Linked DNA regions of Homo sapiens: all the other regions are linked to region 1. Evidence: promoter capture Hi-C in 16 types of primary human blood cells and fetal thymus (Javierre and others, 2016). All regions are on one chromosome and are shown on one strand. Each heading gives the region's core, a stretch centred on a gene start or on the middle of the fragment in contact. The rest is flanking DNA. Distances are from core to core; before and after follow the strand shown. Region 1 holds the start of CMYA5 (cardiomyopathy associated 5). Region 2 holds the start of ZFYVE16 (zinc finger FYVE-type containing 16). Region 3 holds the start of SPZ1 (spermatogenic leucine zipper 1).

Region 1 (3,543 bases), core at 568-3,067:
CCTGTTACCCTTGTCATCCAATAAAAAATAAATTGGATGCTTTTTCCAGGCCTCCATTTTCCATATTCCCTCATGTGTCCCTCCACTCTATTTATTCTGACCTCTTTCCCTGGTGTCCACCTTACTGTCTGTAGTCAGAACAGGCTGAAGTTTACTGCAGACAAATCACATCCTTTTCTGAAGGCCTTGACCTTTGTCAAATGGCAATGCAACCCCAGAGTGAATGGTCAGCTGCTCACATTTTAGTGTAAATGAGTTTTCAGATTCTCTTGGTTGTAAATTGTGGTTGGGCAAGGATATGAGGATCCCAGACAACAGTAAGGGAAAGGTTATAAAAGCTGAGTTGACAGACTTCCCCTTCTCAACACTGCCAAGGGATCACAGGTCCCCTACTCCCTGATCCACTTCCTACAGGTGCCTTCTCCTCTGCTCTTCCTGTTTGTAGTCCCTGCCCACTACTTCAAGGCAGCTCCAGCCCAACACTCCCTCTTCTGCCCTTGCACAGTACCCATAGTCCTCCCTTCCACCTCTATATAGTCTCACACTCCCCATGTTAGGGAAACGTTTCCCCATAGGGGAAAAAGTTAGGGAAACTTTTTCCACAAGGTCCTTGAGGCCAGGGACTGTGCTTGCTTCCCACTTGGCAGCTGTTTGATAAACAGGTGACATACATTCAGGACTTCTTGTCTGACCATCCATCCTCCTCAATGCCCCTCTATGGGCTACTTCTTCAACATCGGCTCTGCTGGCTTTGATTAGGTAAGCTGGGCGTTCTGAGATGGTACACACCCACCTGCCACCTTCAAAGCCTTTCTACTGTTATGAACAGACTGAGGAAGAGACATCACTGACTGACACACAGTCAGGAAAAAACCCAAAACTCATACTCAAGGAAAACAAGTGAAGGTAGAAGCTAATCCAAATAGACATTAGATGATTTCTATTATTCTCATTTTAGGGCCTTCTTAAAGGGACGGAGGGTGGGAGATCGAAGGGTGGGAGGTGCATCTTTTGTACATAGTATTACTTCATCGCATTCACGGAAACTGATATTTGGGATTTGGGACCAGGACTTGAAGAACAGGGATTACTGAAACTCATGCTTCTTTTCCCCCAAAGAATTTATGGGCCTTTGTATCAAAATAAGGTCACCTTATTGCAGCCTAGCCTACTGCTAGGCCCCCGGGGAGACCGCCATTCATCGGAAGGTACCAGTGCGCCTTCACCGCCTCCACCCCACCCCCTTCTCCTCTAGCGCAGGATTTCGCGATTGTTCCTGTGCCTCGGGCCAGATGTACGTGTTCCAGCACATTTCGGCAGTTATGCAGGACCTAAGTAAATCCTCAGGAATAAACAAGAGCAGCGAGTCACAAGGAGCTGGGGGCGGGGGTAATGAACTCTGCTGCAGGCGGGCCTGTCACTCCAGCTGACAGCGAGCACCTTCACCTTCAAGTTCTTTTAAACGACAGTGCACCCAGAGAGAAAGTGCCTAGCTCGAGGCAAACGAACCCCAGAGCTTAAAAACTTAAAGCAAACAAGCAAGGGTGCTGCTAGCTGCCCTGCAGGCCCTGGGCCGAGGAGAGAGGCTCGCGCTACCTGGAGTCCGGCTCCTCCTCCGACTCCGCCGCCGTCTCGTCCTCCTCGCCCTCCGACTCCTCCTCGGTCTCCAGCTCCCGGGTCGCCTCCTCGTCCCCGTCGGAGCCGAGAAAGCTCTCGCCAGCGTGGTTGCTATCGCGGCTCGCCATCGCCTCTCCCGGGCCTGGGCCGGGGCCGGAGCCGGAGCCGCCCGCGCCGCGCCTGGTGTTCTCCCTCCGACTGCTCTGGCCCCTGCCCTCCCCAGCCCTGCCCCTGCGGGGGCGGCTCGGGTTCCCGGCGCCGGGGGCGGGCGAGCCCCGCGACTTTAAATAGAAGGCGTCAAAGTTTCGCCACCGAGCTTCTGGGGCCCGGGCTCAGCTTCTCCTCTTCCCTGAGCCCTCCCCCGCCCCCGTTTCGCCAGATCCCTGGCGGGCCTTTCGGACAACTGGAGATCACTTTAAGGGGCGCGGGCTCCGGCTGCACCAGGGGGTTCAAAGGAGGAAAGGCAACCTAGCCCCGTCTCTTATTTCCTCCAGAGTGAGTCTTTTCGGTTTTGAGCTGAGCTACTTTCTGGACCCTTTATCCCAAACAATACCCTGAGCTGGGCACTTAACTACCAGGCACTCTGCTAAGGGTCTCGCTTTCATTACCTCGATTCTGTGGTGGTACCTGTAGAAGGTTTTACTGTAGTGCTGGTTTCCCAGATGAGGAAACTGAGACTCCGAAGAGCTCCAGCAGCTCAGGCTGTCATTGCTAGTAAAATGACCCAATGAGAAACAAAGCTAGGCGTGCCCTGCTCAAAAGCCCAGTTTTGAACCAGTGTTCCGTCCCGGCTCTCTTTATATCGCAAGTCAATATACTGTGTATTTTCTTGCTCAGTGGTCCCTGTTATTGAGCCAGGAAACTTTATCTCCACTCATCTTAAACCTTGAGGAGGAGCAATTTCCCCCACGTTAGCAAAAAGCTAAGTTTTGTCTGAAACTGGCCCAAATGCCCCAAACCTTTCCCCGGATCAAGTTGTGGTTAAAACCCCTCAATGGCTTCCCACTGCTCAAAGACTGAACCCCAACACCCTCACAAAGGTAACGGTTGCCTAACAGGCCATGTTTTACCTGTCTACTCTTTTTTTTTTTTTGAGATGGAGTCTTGCTCTTGTCGCCCAGACTGGAGTGCAATGGCGCGATCTCGGTCCAGTGCAACTTCCACCTCCTGGGTTCACGCGATTCTCCTGCCTCAGCCTCCCGAGTAGCTGGGACTACAGGCGCGCACCACCATGCCCAGCTAATTTTTGTATTTTTAGTAGAGACGGGGTTTCACCATATTGGCTAGCCTAGTCTCGAACTCCTGACCTCAGGTGATCTGCCCACCTCAGCCTCCCAAAGTTCTGGAATTACAGGTGTGAGCCCCCACGCCCAGCTGGTCAGGTGTCTTTAGAAGTCAGGAGTTCCCAACATTGTCAAGTCACTCCACTGTGTCTTTATTAACACAATTCCTTCTGCCTCAAAGGTTGGTCCCATTTTTACCAGGATACCCATCATTCAAGATCACCACCTTTCACTGAAATCCCAAAGTTAAACTCAGTACCTCTCTTCCAGGTTCCCACATAATCCTATATTCAAATTATGTTTGTATCTCCTTCCCCAGCAGACTTCGTAAGTTTACTACTCTTCTTTGTCCCATCATCCCCATCTCTTACAAGCCTACACACTAGCAAAGTAGCTAGCACATAGCAGGTACATATAATGGATGCTCCCTGAAGAGAACAGAACCAGAACTGCTATGTACAAATGGAGGTAACTTTACAATAAAGATATTCATTTCATGAGAATGATTTGATGGCTAGAAGAGTTAACATTTATTTTTAATTATAGCAAGTCACAGAGTTGTTAAATATGACTGTAAGCTGGGGATTATTCACCAGTTACACGAGCTGGTATGCATGCATTATGTCTGGAGGTAATGAACTGT
Region 2 (3,543 bases), core at 562-3,061, 720 kb before region 1:
TAACAGTGTAAAATTTTAAACAACCTAACAGCCCACCAATCCAAAAATGGTTAAATCAGCTTTCTCAAACTGTGGTCTCAGGACCCCTGGATGTCCCCAGGAGCCTTTCAGCAGGCTTGTAAGATCCTCGCTTTTCCTGCTACGTATCTGTTCAAGGCTGGTGTTTTCTTCATATGCTTCAACCTAAACCAGATAGCACAACAGACTGAACAGAAGCAAACATGAAAATCCAGCTGTCTTCTATAATGCCAGACATTAAAGTGATTCGCAAAAATTTGAAACAATGCCACGCTCCTCTTCTAAGTTTTGTTTTAGAAAATGGTTACTTTTCACTAAAAAATTATTTAATACATGAGTCTGTGATTTTTAAATGAATAAAACATTTTCAATTTTCTGAGTTTTAATTTCCAAAATGGTAAATATACTGCAGCATTAGGAACCAAAAACTCTATTGGTCCTCAATAATTTTTAAGCGTAATTATCCCCAATCATAATGTTAAATGAACTGTAGCACTATTCTATCATGTAACATTATGATTGAGGATAATTAATGCGGATTTGGCTTTATCTGTAATATAACTGTTTCAAAAGATACTTTGCTCATGTATAATCAAGAAGTCATTTTTATGAAGCTTTTTAAAAACATGGGGAAATGCTTACAACGTAATTTAAATCAAGGAAAGCAGACAATCCAACGATATAAAATCTCATCTCAAGAAAATGCACAGGGGAAAAAAAGACTCAAAGGAAAAAAGTCAAAATATTATAAGTAATTGATTACTATTACATGGTGGAATTATGATTGATCATTTTTCCTTATTCTTTATTCTATTTTTTCAATTTTTGCCACTAAGCATGCGGTTTAATATCCAGGAGAGGAAAAAAAGGAAGAAATTAGGCGAAAAATTATATATAGTTCTACTGGATTAAACCATTAAACTCCCGCCAACTCAAGAGACGACAAGCTCAAGTGAATAAATGGAGGAATCTGATTGAATCAACAAAGTGCCTATTTTTTGAATTGAAAAGATTAACTTAATATCAAATGTATGGACTGGTTTTCATACAAGTCAAACTAATAAGAAAGAACATCCTTAGTCTGGAACATAATATTTGCAATCACGATAGTACAAATAAGAGTTAAAAATAAGGTCCTCTTTTGGAGTTCTCAAAAGTACCAAAGGAAAGGCAGCGGGAAAGACGGCCACTGCATCCTTCTGGTCTCTAACCAAGAGAAAATGCATGGGTGCGGGAATGGACAGTGCGAGAGCACCGGCGGCGATGAGACTCCTCTGCGGGGACCGAGCCTCTGCCACTCCTGAAGAACCACAGTCCCCTCCGCAGTCGCAGCCCCTCCCCAGGCGGGACGGCGGCGCCAGGGCGCTTCTCCCTCCGTCCGCTGGGGTCTCTCCCCCAGGAGCGCCGAACACTCCGGCGGCCCGGGAGCGGGGAACCGGGCAAACAGCCGCCGTGATTGCCCTCCCGGTCCAGTCCGGTCTGGCCCTTCAGGCTCCAGGAGGGGACATCAGATTGGAGGGCCAGGGTTCCCCGGCCAGCTCCGGGGGCTCGGAAAAGGAATCGGTCGGGGCCCAGGCTCTGTCCCCAGAGGAAGAGGGCCAGACCCAGCGCCCAGGTCGGCGGGTCCAGCGGTCACCCCGCCCCCCTGTGGGAACAGCAGGGCTGAGGGGAGGCCGAGACGACCGGTCACGGGGGGCTCTTACCTCCCTACAGCCCCTGCGGAGCTTTTTGGGAACTCGACACGACGTCGCGCTGAGGAGTGAAGAGCTACCCCGGCCGGGAGTCCTGGGAGTGCCAGATCCCGGCTCAGGGCTTCTTTCCCCGCCCCACCGGGCAGCGCAGAGAGCGCAGGCGCAGAGGACGCTTTCCTCTTCGGCTCACACGCCCCCTCCCTCGGCATCCGCGGCCGTCTCCAGGCCCGGGGCGCTTGCGCACTACGACGCAGGTTCCGAGCCAAGGGCACTAGATTTCTTACCGGAAGTGCCTGAGTGGGTTGTTGGGTGACGGGGACGCCTGATGATTCGACCTTAGGTCGGGACTCGGTTCTCCACTCGACTGCGGGATCGGGAGGCCACTCGCGTCAGTGTCTGACTTCCTTTACCCTTCGCTAACCTAGAGGCAGCTTCCCCGGCTCCAGCCTTAGCCCTTTGCTGAGCCTGCGCGGCGTTCCGGTCTCTACTGGACAGACCCGCCTTCCCGGCAGCGGGCTAGGCCTGCTCTCCGCGCTGCTGGCCCCTCGGAAAACATAACTTTTTGTTTACTTCAAACTGATTTTACAACACGCTGCCCCCCCGCCTCCCCCGCTTCCCCCGCTTCCCCTTCCTCCTCCCGGCAGCAATAAAAATGCTCCCAGCCAACGCCGAGCTCCAAGCCCCTCCAGCTGACTGGACATTCCCAGCCACACTTTCCTTCCCTTCGCTGCGTTAGTTCTGCATTTTTATTTTAAAGCAGCTGGTAGAACAGCTGTCTCCCTGTCTAAAAGCAAAAGCTGACTTATCTGATGTAGAAATAAAATGTCACTCACTTGATGTATATTTGCTTGTTGAGTTTTGCTATTTTTACCACAAGTTTCCTATAAATTTAAATGAGACCCGGCGCGGTGGCTCACGCCTGTCATCCCAGCACTTTGGGAGGCCGAGGCGGGAGGATCGCTTGAAGTCAAGAGTTCCAGACAGGCCTGGGCAACATAGCAAGACCCTGTCTCTACTAAAAATGAAAATGAAAAAATTAGCCAGGCGTGTTGGCGCGTGCCTGTAGTCCCAGCTACTGGCTGGGAGTCTGAAGTGGGAGGATCACTTAAGCCCAGGAGGTCAAGGCTGCAGTGAGCTCTGATGGCAACACTGCATTCCAGCCTGAGCAACAGAACCAGACCGTGTCTCTAAAAAAATAAAAAATAAAAACAAGGGAAGAGACATACATGTGGGATCAGATACAGACAGATACAGGGAAAAAGCAGTTCCTCAAAGGTTAAACAGCTCACAGTTCATACTGATCTTTCAAAAATCGCAAGAATTGGCCGGGCGCAGTGGCTCACGCCTGTAACCCCAGCACTTTGGGAGGCCGAGGCAGGCGGATCACCTGAAGTCAGGAGTTCGAGACCAATCTGGCCAACATGGTGAAACTCCGTCTCTACTAAAAATACAAAAATTAGCTGGGTGTGGTGGCGGGCGCCTGTAATCCCAGCTACTTGGGAGGCTGAGGCAGGACAATCAGGACCATTGAATGAACCCAGGAGGCAGAGGTCACAGTGAGCCAAGATCGAGCCACCACACTCCAGCCTGGGTGACAGAGCAAGGCTCCGTCTCAAAAAAGAAAAAAAAAAAATTGCAAGAATTATAATTTTTCGAGTATTCCAGCCACATGTGATTTGTGATGAAAGATTTGAGAATCAGGGTTCGCATCTTAAATCTGCAGTTTACAACTATAGTTCCTGATCTTTGAAAGATACTTAATCTTTAACCTTGGTTTTCCTAAACAACAAAATGAAATAGCCAAACTTTTGATTGCCTAAAGTAATGTGTGTAT
Region 3 (3,543 bases), core at 641-3,140, 630 kb before region 1:
CCAGAACTCCCCCTGCCCCCAGGCAATGATTAAATAAAGAAAAAAAAAATTTCCCTTGTATTCTGGTTTTTATTTAGATCTTTACTTAATTGGACCTTTAACTTCTCACTCTAGGCTGTCTATCTAATAATTACAAAAAAAACAAGCAGATTGTAAAGGTGAAAAGTTATGAACTTGATGTAGACACAATGGTCATTAAAGACCAGACTTACATAACTGCTGAAGTAATGAGTAATATAAGTGTCAATCTCCTTATTCTATAGCTCTTTCTTGGTTGAACCAGCAGATCTGCCCAAGGTTTGATGATTGATCATGACTGACAAGTTGGAGGTAACAGATGTAGTTTTTTAAGGATTCACCTTTTCATCTGCTTTTGGTATTTTCTATCTTAGGCTGCTAGCTGACCTCATTTTTCCCCTAAGAGCTTTTCTTGCAACATGAATATTGAACTGGGTATTGCAAGCTTTCTTATTAAGACAAACATCCAGGCTTCTACAGGATCTGTCTTTTTTCCAAAATGTACCCTTCATTGCTTGCTTGTTCTGCTTATACATTTCTACTTTCTTTGCTTCTGATGGCTTCTGATTTTTCTTGTCCTGTTTATAGTTTATCTGAATTGGCTTCTCTTGCAGAGTTCCCTGTTTCTGATGATGGAGTTCCTTGAGAATCTCTACTCTCTGCTGTAAGATTTGGCATTCATTCTCTAGCAAAGCTGCCATCAACTGCAATGAATAGGTGTCATGGCTCAGTTTCTTCACCTGTTCCTCCAGCTCATGCTTAGCCGACACTTCATTATTTGGCTGGGTTTGGAAACCGACTCCATTATTTCCAAGAGTTTCACTTATGTCTTTCTGAGATTTCTGATAGGATTTTATCAGTTTACTGAGCTCAGTATGTTGTTTACTCCAGTGTTCTGCTTCCTGTAGTAACTGCTCCATGTTGTTCCTAATTTTCATAGTTTCTTCTTGAACATTAAGTCTGTTTTTTGCTTTTTCCTGACTTTGTTGAGTTTCGTTAAGGACTTTTTTTTCTTCTAAACGATTTACCAAATCTCTTGCAAAAACTTGTGCGGTGTTCTCAGAGTTCTGGTTTTCCATTATCATCTGCTGTTTCTTTTCATTGTCTTCTTTCTCTGGGGCTAAACTAACAGGCAGGTTTGTTGATAACATTTCATTGATTTTGTCAAGTCCTCTGATATTTTCTTTGTGGGCTGACACATCCTCAGTAATATTGGTTTCCAATATCATCTCCTGTTTCTTTTCATTGTCTTCTTTCTCTGGGGCTAAACTAACAGGCAGGTTTGTTGATAACATTTCATTGATTTTGTCAAGTCCTCTGATATTTTCTTTGTGGGCTGACACATCCTCAGTAATATTGGTTTCCTCAAAAAGTTCTTTTGCTTCTGTGATCTTCTCTTCAAAACCTGCCATATTTTTAAGAATATCTTTAATTTCTTTTAAGAGATTGTTAAACTTCTGTGCAGTCTGTTGTTCTGTAACTTGATGGCTGCTATTCTTTAGGAAAGGGAGAGAGCCCCAGGAGGAAGGGGAATGTGATCCAATTTCGAATAAGGCAATGGTAATCCTAGGGTCCAGATATTCTTGATGAGGATCAGGAGTAGGGTTAACGGTTTTGGAGATGGTGGGCATCTCAGCTGACTTAGCAGAGCTGGCCATCAGGACAGAAGGAAAGCAGAAAACTTTAGAGATTCCAGGAAGGACAGGTGATGGTCCTTTGTGCAAATGTGGGTGGAGACTGTGGAATCAAGCAGAAGTCAGAGACCAAAGTTAAGGATTAAAATTTGGGAGATGATGTTTAGGTGGAAGGTGGCATCTCAGACAGCCTTGTGGGGAGGAAGGGTGGGAAAGGGGACCAAGGCTGGGGCTCCATCTCTTCTCCTCTAGGCACCCGGTGTTTATTCTCTGGCCCTAGCAACCAGGTCTTTATTTTGTCACTGCACCATTGTGGCCTATCCATAGTGTCTGTCTCCTTTGTGTCACAATGGAAGCCTCTTAAATTCCTGCCCAGTGACTCCTGCATCAAAACCAACCTTGAGCTATCCCTACTCCTCATGCCAGAAAGAGCTCTACAATAGCTCTTCCCCTCCTTAATTTCTAGGTTGCTATTCATCTCAGTCTAAATGCACTCAGTTACTTCTCTACGTCACCTCTATCCCCTCACAATCCTGACCTCAACCGCAGCATGTTTTGACCACTTAAGGACATTGCTGAGACCAGTCCTCTCTGGTGAGGTCCCCATCCTTTCATAGCACCTAGAGGCTCTATTGCTCCCATTCTAGGAGAGATGTGACTGTAAGAGAAAGTTATCCACACAAAACAAAACCCTGAGAGTGACAGCCTTTTGTGATTTTAGGAAAGTAATGTCAGGAGTCCCTCCATTCAAAAATATTCTACTGCTCCAAGAAGGGACTATCTGAATGGTTATAATAGCAACACAATTACAAACTGGGACTTTTCTTGGCTTTGAATATAGGCATCCTTTAAGACAGGCTTGGCAAGCTTACTCACAAATCATTTACATCAGGTGATAGAAAACTTTGACTATTACTTTTCACAGTAACTTATTTGGGGATTTTTTTTTTGGCTCTTTTATTGATCCCCTAAGATTTCCACACTCTACACAGTAACTTGTTAAAATGACATAGTTATATTTCTAAAGTGTTTGATTAGAAGGGCATGGTAGTGTGTGCCTGTGGTCCCAGCTACTTGGGAGGCTGAGGCGAGAGGATCACTTGAGCCTGGGAGGTTGAGGCTGCAGTGAGCCATGACTGTGCTACTTAGTGCACTCCAGTTTGGGCAACACAGCAAGATCTATCACAAAAAATTAAAAAATTGGCCAGGTGCAGTGGCTCATGCCTGTAATCCCAGCACTTTGGGAGGCTAAGGCGGGCAGATCACTTGAGGCCAGGAGTTCAGGATCAGCCTGGGCAACATGACAAAACCCCATCTCTACTAAAAATGCAAAAATTAGCTGGGCATGGCAGCACACACCTGTAATCCCAGCTACTCAGAAGGCTGAGGCATGAGACTTGCTTGAACCCAGGAGGAGGAGGTTGCAGTGAGCTGAGATCGTGCCAGTGCACTCCAGCCTGGGTGACAGAACAAGACACTGCCTCAAAAAAAGAAATTAAAAATTAAAAAATAAAAAGCATTTGAAACAGGTAAATTCTCTAGTGGGTTATAGAAAGTAACAAGTTTATTAAACTTCTTGCATTTTAATAAGCTGCTTTCTTGTCTTTTTGTTCTTAGGAGTCAGGTCTTGTGAATATAGAACTCAATCAAAGAAACATTTCTTGTGTATGACTTTTTCCTGGCCTTCAAAATCTTGCTAGCAAGCACTTTAATAGAAATTTGCTTCCAGTCTTAAGGGAAAACTCATACTCAGGTTTTTTTTCCCCTAGAGAAGAGAAATTTATATGTTTTCTTTCTTCTCCAGTTACCAACTCATTTTGGCTCTAATTCCCCAGAGCCTCATGCTCATCTTTCAGCCAGCTGGGCTCCAGGCCATCGTCACTGACTACTC

Evidence for each region. The method cuts DNA at HindIII sites, captures the fragments that hold promoters and counts their contacts. A CHiCAGO score of 5 or more calls a contact.
Region 2: the fragment with the promoter of ZFYVE16 here is called in contact with the fragment with the promoter of CMYA5 in region 1 in 1 of 17 cell types (monocytes); the score reaches 6.0 in monocytes.
Region 3: a contact is called between the fragment with the promoter of SPZ1 here and the fragment with the promoter of CMYA5 in region 1, in 6 of 17 cell types (M1 macrophages, total CD8 T cells, naive CD4 T cells and 3 more). The highest score is 7.3, in M1 macrophages.

The regions. Positions count from the first base shown.
Region 1 is chr5:79,688,110-79,691,652 of GRCh38, reverse strand. CMYA5 (cardiomyopathy associated 5) reads right to left here and starts at 1,817. Exons shown (of 13, transcript NM_153610.5): 1 at 1,597-1,817. The coding sequence starts at 1,745. It overlaps TENT2 (terminal nucleotidyltransferase 2), which reads right to left. Exons shown (of 15, transcript NM_001114394.3): 15 at 3,407-3,543. RefSeq lists an enhancer at 1,806-2,307. The HindIII fragment of the contact is 6,464 bases long and covers 1-3,543 here.
Region 2 is chr5:80,406,332-80,409,874 of GRCh38, reverse strand. It overlaps ZFYVE16 (zinc finger FYVE-type containing 16), which reads right to left and starts at 1,811. Exons shown (of 19, transcript NM_001284236.3): 1 at 1,722-1,811. RefSeq lists a silencer at 1,211-1,330 and an enhancer at 1,051-1,849. The HindIII fragment of the contact is 4,043 bases long and covers 635-3,543 here.
Region 3 is chr5:80,318,349-80,321,891 of GRCh38, reverse strand. It overlaps SPZ1 (spermatogenic leucine zipper 1), which reads right to left and starts at 1,890. Exons shown (of 1, transcript NM_032567.4): 1 at 50-1,890. The coding sequence starts at 1,676. The coding sequence ends at 384. The HindIII fragment of the contact is 2,056 bases long and covers 466-2,521 here.